Regions from separate parts of the Homo sapiens genome. Here regions 1 and 3 are each linked to region 2. Evidence: promoter capture Hi-C in 16 types of primary human blood cells and fetal thymus (Javierre and others, 2016). All regions are on one chromosome and are shown on one strand. Each heading gives the region's core, a stretch centred on a gene start or on the middle of the fragment in contact. The rest is flanking DNA. Distances are from core to core; before and after follow the strand shown. Region 1 has its middle 15 kb from the start of PKNOX2-DT. Region 2 holds the start of HEPACAM (hepatic and glial cell adhesion molecule). Region 3 overlaps TMEM218 (transmembrane protein 218).

Region 1 (2,934 bases), core at 215-2,714, 210 kb after region 2:
GAAGTGACTTTGGGGCTTATTTTCTTTCTAATCATAGAGCTGGATGCCGTGACTAACGGCAGCTGGCAGATTGGCAAGTGAGTACCAAGGGACCCAGGTTGAGGGGTTCCATGACAGGCTCCTAAGAAGTGAGAACTGGAAGGAGCCCCAGGGATTATTGAGGTCATCCCTTTCATTTGAAGGCTGAGCCCTTGGTGGTGGGTATGGCTTTTCACAGCTGAATTGGAACCCGGGCCTCTTGATTCCGAGCATGGTGCTATTTCCCGTGCTGTGAGCCTGTTGTTGATGCCCTCCCAGCTCTGCAGCAGGCCCTTTGCCTTCTTCAAATCGCCTGCTGATCTTAGGTTCCTGTATCAGGCTAAGTTATTATCTGATAATCAGTTCAAGTCCATGAAGATGCTCTGAGTACTTGACTTGGTGCCAAGCATTGTGTTAGGGCCAGGATATCAAAATAAGATATGAAACCTACCAAGGAGACTGTGACAGACGGTATTAGTGTGCCCAATTGTTTGCTGCCTTGCCCTGTGAAAGGCTTATACTGATGTCAGACCTGGTCATGTGGCTTGCTTTGGCCAGTGAAATTTGAGCAGAAGCTTTCTCCTCAAAGCCTGAGCAGGAGGTTTCAGGGACATTTTGCGGTTCCACTGCGTTTTCTCTTTTTTATCTTCTAGAAGAGTGGCATGTCCAGAATAGGGCCAGGCCTCTCTAGCTGGGTCCCACAATGAAGAGAAGACGTGGAATGCCAGTGCCACAGCCGATGTGTAACATAATGAGAGATAAACCTTTGCATGGTGAGCTGCTGTGATTTTATGGTTGTTTATCCCGCAGCATAACCAGCATAAGCTGATGGCCACAGAGAGAATCACAAATCAGTTGGAGAGATGGTTTATTTACAACCGAAACACAGGGTGATGGATGCTTTGCTAGATGCATCCACAGAAGATTCAAAAATAGGTGAAAAGAGGGAATAACTCTCTCTTTGGGAAGGAGGGTTCAGGAAAGGCTTTCTAGGAGAGGAGATAGATTGGAGGTGTTTAAAGGTTGAGGAGATGTCCACCACATTAGGTGATTAGAGCTTTATTTATTGAAGCACTCTAATCAGAGAGACCAGCATGCACAGACATGAAATATCACAGCATATTTGAGAATTGCCTGTACCCTCCACAGCTGTAGGCCAGGGTCAGCATTCTTTATCTTTGTAGCCTACTGGTCTCCAACCACTGTGTCAGGTCCCCAAGGGGTATCTGCAGAAACGCGGATAAAGACGCATCGTTTATTTCGATCAGAGCTTTGACCACAAATCCTCATCTGATCCCACAGCCTGAAAAGCTGAGCTGGGATGTGTGCATGTCATGTGGACTCTCTTATAAAAGTTTAATTTTTATTTATCAAAGAATATATATAGATAGTTTGGAAATCAACAGTGGCCTCGCCTCACCTCTCCACGCTCCCAAGTCCTGCCCCAAGGCAGTTACCATCAACTCCTACATCTCATTTCTTTTTTGTGTATATCGCTGTGTTTCTAAATAATATGCTTATATTGTTACTACTTAATTGACCAATTTTAGGAATTATGTATTGATTTACTGCCATGTAGAGAGCTTAATTCTCTCATGGTGTTGTCTCCCAACTCCATCCTTGTTCTTCCCCTCCTCCTATCTCTTCAACATAAACTTACTCTTTAGTTCAATCACTATTTGATGTTTCTATGCTAATGACTATGCAAATATAATTTGCTACCAAGTCAAGTAGTACAATGTGACCTTGTGTCCTTTTTCATACAATCCATTGTTTTTCCTGGAATTTACTTTCTATGCATTCAGGCTCATCTGTTTTACTTTTTCCCCATATAGTAATCCCTCCAAGAATCTTGTGTTTTTCTGTTTCAACCTGGATTAGCTGCTTTATAGGAATGCTGTTTAACTGTCATCCAGAGGCTTCAATTTACCATAATTTTGAATTTTTCCTTTATTGTCTTCCTGTGGTAAATACCCTATTTCCTGAATTCCATGTATTCTATGTTGCCCTATAGTCTAACTTTATTAAACCCCATCCTCCAATAACTTCCTAAGATAGGGTGCCTAGGAGGTCATTTTCTTGAGTCATTAAATATCTGAAAATATCTCTAGACTACTGTGATATGTGACTGATAATTTATTTGGGTATCGAATTTTAGATTAAAGAACAGTTTCTTTCAGAATGTAAAAGGCATTTCTGTGATATCTTTTAACATCTGAGGTTGCTCTTTTTAAAAGTTTAATTTTTTTTTTTTTTTGAGACGGAGTCTCGCTCTGTTGCCCAGGCTGGAGTGCAGTGGCGCGATCTCGGCTCACTGCAAGCTTTGCCTCCGGGTTCACACCATTCTTTTGCCTCAGCCTCCCGAATAGCTGGGACTACAGGCGCCCGCCACCACGCCCGGCTAATTTTTTGTATTTTTTAGTAGAGACGGAGTTTCACCATGTTAGCCAGGATGGTCTCGATCTCCTGACCTCATAATCCGCCTGCCTCGGCCTCCCAAAGTGCTGGGATTACAGGCGTAAGCCACAGCGCCCGGCCAAAAGTTTGATGTTTTTATGCTCGTTTCTTTTACCTGTGTTTTAGGACTTTTAAAATGTTTTATGTTCTAAAATGTCATGATAATGAAGGTGGTGGGCATTGGTATATGTCTTTTCTATTCTTTGTGCTGGGCTCATTAGGAGACTAATGTCTTTTTTTCTCTCCTATTATCCATCTCTACCATTTTGCTTCACTCTTTGAAAGATTTCTTCAACTTTATCTTCTAAACTTTATATTCAATTTTTGAAAAACTTTTAGTTATATTTTTAATTTCAAAGAGGCTTTTAAAATTAAAAATTTATCTTTTCATTGTAATCTCTTATTGTTTTATGAGTACATTTTTTCCTCTTTTTGAGAGTGTTTTTGAAGCATTACTGC
Region 2 (3,039 bases), core at 514-3,013:
TAATTTCAGTCCATGTTATTTCTCCTATTTCTCTCTTGATCTATTGCAATAGCTTTTTGACCTGTGTTCCCCTCAAATTCATACGTTGGAGTCCTAACCCCCAAGTACCTCAGAATGTGAACTTATTTGGCAATGGGGTCACTGCAGATCTAATAAGAAGGGATCATACTGGAGTAGGATGGACCTAATCTAGTATGTGTCCTTATAAAAAGGGGAAATGTGGACATAGACATGCAAACACGGGGAATGCCATACCAAGACTGGAGTGATGCTGCCACAAGTCAAGGAATTACCAGAAGCTAGGAGAGAACCCTAAGGCAGAGCCCTCCCTAGAAGCTTCAGAGAGAGCATGGCCCTGCTGACACCTCGATCTCCCACTTCTGGCTTCCACGACTTTGAGATAATGCATTTCTGTTGTTTAAGCCACTCAGTTTGTGGTATTTTGTTATAGGAGCCCTAGAAAATGAATACAAACTTCCTTTCTTATTTTATTTGCCTCCAGTTTCCCCTCGAATGACCCCCTGCAGACTGAGTAAGCTATCTGAAAGGTACATGTAACCCTGACAGTCCCCAAATTAAAAACCGCTCATTCCCTCACCTCTCAATCCCCAGATTACGAGTCTGGTTTACAAAGCTCTTGCCTCACTCAATTCATGCTTTTCTCTCCAGCAGTGATGAACTGCTGGGCTCTGACTAAACACTTGATGTTATTTCAAGCTGTTGACCTTTGCTCATTTCCCAACCCTAACACCCACTTATACTCCTACCTTTTTTCCCCATCTTTTAAAATTCAGTGCACACATTCCTTCTACCAGAAAACCTCCCCCTGATATTCCCACACCCTGTGTCCTACCCTACCAACACCCCCTCCACCAGCACCAGCTTCCTGGATGGGGTAGGTGACCTTTCTCTGATTGCTATGCATTCTCTGCATAATTGACTTATGATAGTTCCTGCAGTTTAGTAAAATGATCTCCACATCTGTTTGCCTCACTAAGTTGTGAATTCCTAGGTGCTCTGTAATTGTGTGTGTGTGTGTGTGTGTATATGTGTATGTACTCATAAATAGGTATATTTAAATAAGATCACTTCTCAAAGGATTGGTAGGGGGCGGTAGAGGAGGTAAGCAGCTATGGAGTGGAGTGAATTATGGATAGGTGGGTATGACTATCCCACATTAGGAGGCTCATTATCTCCAAAGCTTCTTTCATCTGCCTTACTCTTTTACACACAGAGAAGCCAGAGTCGGGGGCTGGGGAGGTATAAAAAGAAAATTTCCCCTACCCCTACCCATCAAGCCCCACCACAATCCCTTGGAAAGAATGCCAGACTGGCCCACGCCAACAAGTCATCCCATACGAAATGGCCCAGTGCCCGCCATCTAATGTACTGAATGCCGTGGGAGCTCCAAAGTCATGCAGCCTTTTGGGGGAAGGGGGTAGGGGCCGCGCGGGAGGCACACAAAATAAAGAAATACGTTCAACGCTAATGCCTGAATTCCCTGACATGTTTCCCACGGCAGCTGAACTCTCCCCCACTCCTGCCCCAAAGGCATTCAGGCCCTCCACTCTCCCCTCCGTCTGCTGTAAAAGCCCCGGGTCCTTTCTTCAGACCCTTTCTTACCCTCTGGCCTCCTACCTGTCTGGATCAGAAGAAGGTAGACAAAAGGAGCAAGGCGCAGGGCCCTGGAGGCTCTGGACAGGGCTCCCCTTTCTCTCTTCATTTTGGGTGGCGTTCTCCAGCTCTAGTGCAGACAATTAGCATGATTTCTCCACTCTGGGCACGTCCCCTTTGTACCACTCGGAGTTTCTCTGCCCGAACACAACCCTGCCAACTTCCCTCTGAATACACAGAGCTCTGTGTATTGCTGGACTTGTTCTTTCCTCTCCCTCAGACCTGGCATTTTCTAGTTTCCAAGCCCTACATCCCCAGTTTGGAAGCAGGTATCTGCTTAGGAGATAATCTCCAACTCAGGTTCCAACATGGGGGGCACCGGCAGCCCAGCAGTTGGTTGCTTGTCTGTGCTGAGCCTCACTACCCAGGGAGATGAGGATCTGGGCTCAGAGCACTGAGCTGGGACACACACTTAACTGGACTTTGTGTCCCAACCTACCCTGTCTCCACCTAACACTCCTTCTCCCTGAGGAGGAGGGTACATGCCAGGACAGACCTCCAATAAGCTCTGAAAAGGGAGGGAGAAGAGATTTTAAAAAGCTGGGAAGTGAAAGACTCCAGACAACTGCTGAAGAAATGGAAAACCCCTGTTCCATCCCAAAGGAAGAAGACTGGAAAACAGCTTGAATTCTATTATTGTTACACTTGTCTTTCCGTGGCTTGGAATTTTCTCTTCTATCATAGAATCACATAGATGCTGGACACCTCTTTCCAGAAGCCACTCTGTTCATTCCCCTGCTTTCAGGCAATTTTCTAGAACATGTCTGAGCAAAATGAAGGTCATCTCCTAACAGCCAGCATCCTAGGGTTCTGTTACCAGCTTAACAGCCTAGCTGTGCCCTCCTGTTTTGAGGCTGTGAAGAGGAGAAACACTCTAGCTCTACTCTGACCCCCATTCATGTGTTCACACCTTTTCATGAGGGCGGCCAAGGGAATGGATGCCTAGTAACTGTGATCTTGGGATGGGCTCGCAACCTCTTTGAGCCTTCAATTTCTCATCTGTAAAATGGGGAAAAGAAGAGCTTCCTTGAGGGGAATTGTTGGGAGCGTTGATGGAGATTTGGTACAGAAGAGTACCTAGCAAATCCTTTGTTACAGAGATGATGTTTTAAACTTTTTAAAAATTGCCTTGTTTCTTTTTTCATTCATGCTGGGATCTTTATATTTTTGGGAGACCAAACTTCACAACTTCCTTCTTGGTCATCCCTAACCCCTGGTCTTGGTTTTGTAAGTGCAGCAATTATCTCTCTAAATATTCTTTTTACATACTGGAGAAAGCCTGAGTAGGTCAACTTTCTAGAACTGAAGCATTATTACATAGCCCTTCTGAGCCTCGGCAGAGGGAGAAGAGTTGGGAAGCACTGA
Region 3 (2,700 bases), core at 28-2,527, 160 kb after region 2:
TTACCCCAACAGTCAACTTACAACAAAGGTCAGTTTGATAAAACAGCTTTAACATAACTTTGACCTTGGCTCCGGTACTGAACAAGTCTCTTGCGGGCCACATGTTTGCTCGTTCGACACGTTTCACTTTTTAATTAGCCAATTAGCAGGCCTTGGGTGCAGAAGGCCCAGGCCATGTATTATTGATACAGCATTGAGCCAGGCTGCTGCAGAGGCCCGCTCTCAAAACCTGAAAATGAGAACTCCAATTCTGCCGGCCATGCTGACAAAAGTATTTTGCTCAAACCCCATTCTTGTCTCCTGGGTCTGAAACTCATATGACAGACAATCGAGGGATTGATTTCAAAAATGTGTTTGCTCTGTGCCCTTCTCCCGATGTTTACATCTGCAGCATCCAGAAATGTGGCAGCCCACATCACTCTCCCCCTTAAAAGACAAGGAAAGCAGCTGGGTGCGGTGGCTCACGTCTGTAATCCCAGCACTTTGGGAGGCTGAGGCGAGTGGATCACCTGAGGTCAGCAGTTTGAGACCAGCCTGGCCAACATGGTGAAACCCTATCTCTACCAAAAATACAAAAATTAGCTGGGTGTGGTGGCACATGCCTATAATCTCAGCTACTCGGGAGGCTGAGGCAGGAGAATTGCTTGAGTCCGGGAGACGGAGGTTGCAGTGTGCCGAGATCATGCCACTGCACTCCAGCCTGGCCGACAGAGCGAGACTGTCTCAAAAAAAAAAAAAAAAAAAAAGATAAGTGAGGTGTGAATTTGCCCCTGGCTCACACATGTGGTACCCACACCTCCAGAGTGTTTTCCAAATACTGACAACAAACTTGTGTCCATGGAAATAATTCCTTAAGTGTGTGTGGTAAAGTACTATTTCCCTTGGAGTTTAATTTCCTTCCTCTTGCCATAGTTAATCCTACAGTGTCAATTTTAGTTCAAAAGTTACACATATAATCTTGTGTACTGTTGTTGTCTAGTGTCAAAATGCTAACCCATGAGCTCTCTGGGACTGCCCTGAATATTCTGTTAAGTTCTCAACACTGAAGATTTTGAAGACGGACCTCAGCTTGAATCCCTGTTCTGCCTCTTGCTATGTGACCTTGGGCAAGTTACCTTAACCTCTGACAGACTCAGTGTTCTTACCTATAAAATGGGGATAATAATGGTACCTATGTCATACTACTTAGGGCTGTCCTGAGGTTTAAATGAGACAGTGCAAACAAAGTGTTTGGCACAGGACCTGGCACACGGAAATCCCTTAAAGAATGTTAGCTATTTTCATGACTATCACTTAAAACATCAAAATGAAGGTTGAGAGGAAAGCTGTGAGAAGGAGTAATGGGACAGAAAAGGTCAATGTCATTGTCAAGATCCCATGGGTCTGAGACCAGCCATGCATGGTAAAGCCATGGTAAAGAACTCCAGAGAAGGATTCTGAGAGAGATGATAAAAATCCATTTAAAGACATGGGTGCTGGCAGGTATGGTCCCAGGTATGAGGACCAAAGAACTCCCAGAAGACTGTTGGGAAAATTCTAGCACATGCAGTTGGAGAAGCATGTCCTCAGCACCCTCAGGGCACCACATCAATTTCAGCCCAGGATCTGCAGTTAGGAGCCCAGGCTGCCAGGAATGGGAACACTTCATCTCGGGTGCAGGCCTGTGACTATCCCTATTTCATTTTCTTTTTTTTCTGTCCCCATGGTACGAGGTGGCTTTCCAACAGGCTGTTTTCAACTTGATGCAAACTGAAGATGAGACCAAATCAGGCAAATAACTGCCTGGTGGGGTTGTAGATGGAATTCAGAGTAAGATTCTTTTCCTGAGTGAAGGGGCAGGGGAACTTAAAACTCCCTCTGAACTTTCCCCGTCATTGGTTGAACTTTACAATTCTGACATCTCAGGCAACCCGATGTCAGGGAACATCAAGGGCAGGACGGATGTGCAGACCAAGAGAAATAAGAATCACAGCTCAGGAGGCAAAACGAAAGCAACAGCTTTACCTTAACTTCCACTTCTGGGGCTGGGAATTCACCAGCTCGCGGGAAAAGCAACAGAACTGATGTGATGATCACAGCACCGAAGAATAAAAAAATGACAGAGAACCTGGGGTTAAAAAGACAAATTATTAAAAGCACTGTCTATAATTTCTTCTTTGATCAGTTAGGTCTGGACAGTCTCTTCCTTGGAGCCAATATTCTATGTTTCAGTCCCTTAACAATGTCCAGAGGCCTGCTGTCAACAACCTCTTCATCCCAAAGTCCTTCTTCCTAGACAGGTACCAGCTGGGTGCATTCCCATTTATTCTTGGTAATTCCCAATTCCTAAGAATGGAAATGTGTAGTTTTTATTTTTACTTCTGCCCAAAGTCATAATCAAGAAAAACCAAAGCATCCCCTCTCCACCTCCACTTCTGTTGTTTTTAGAACAGAATACTTTAGAAAATTCTACAACTCTCTGCTTCATACTAACACTGTCTTGCCAGAGTGCAACTCTAGTGTTTTCAGAGTCGGTTTATGGCCTAACCCTGTTCTGAAGGCAATGCCTGATATAGAAAGCAGGCCCAACTCATCAAATGTTGCTTTCGTTTTCCTGGGTCCAGGGCTAGAGCCTCGGGTACTGGACCAAGCCTCTGCCATAAATCTGAACAATTCATAAACACATACACATACAGCCTCAAGAAACTCAATAAGCAGTGA

Evidence for each region. The method cuts DNA at HindIII sites, captures the fragments that hold promoters and counts their contacts. A CHiCAGO score of 5 or more calls a contact.
Region 1: a fragment that was not itself captured here is called in contact with the fragment with the promoter of HEPACAM in region 2 in 1 of 17 cell types (monocytes); the score reaches 5.3 in monocytes.
Region 3: a fragment that was not itself captured here is called in contact with the fragment with the promoter of HEPACAM in region 2 in 1 of 17 cell types (naive CD4 T cells); the score reaches 5.3 in naive CD4 T cells.

The regions. Positions count from the first base shown.
Region 1 is chr11:125,148,386-125,151,319 of GRCh38, forward strand. No RefSeq gene overlaps it. Among named protein-coding and RNA genes, the nearest start is that of PKNOX2-DT, 15 kb to the right of the region's middle. The HindIII fragment of the contact is 1,746 bases long and covers 592-2,337 here.
Region 2 is chr11:124,934,284-124,937,322 of GRCh38, forward strand. HEPACAM (hepatic and glial cell adhesion molecule) reads right to left here and starts at 1,764. Exons shown (of 7, transcript NM_152722.5): 1 at 1,639-1,764. The coding sequence starts at 1,723. All of the region lies in intron 1 of LOC107984406 (a long non-coding RNA gene), which reads left to right. The HindIII fragment of the contact is 6,598 bases long and covers 1,200-3,039 here.
Region 3 is chr11:125,099,197-125,101,896 of GRCh38, forward strand. It overlaps TMEM218 (transmembrane protein 218), which reads right to left. Exons shown (of 5, transcript NM_001258244.2): 4 at 2,005-2,107. Among named protein-coding and RNA genes, the nearest start is that of TMEM218, 11 kb to the right of the region's middle. The HindIII fragment of the contact is 4,850 bases long and covers 1-2,700 here.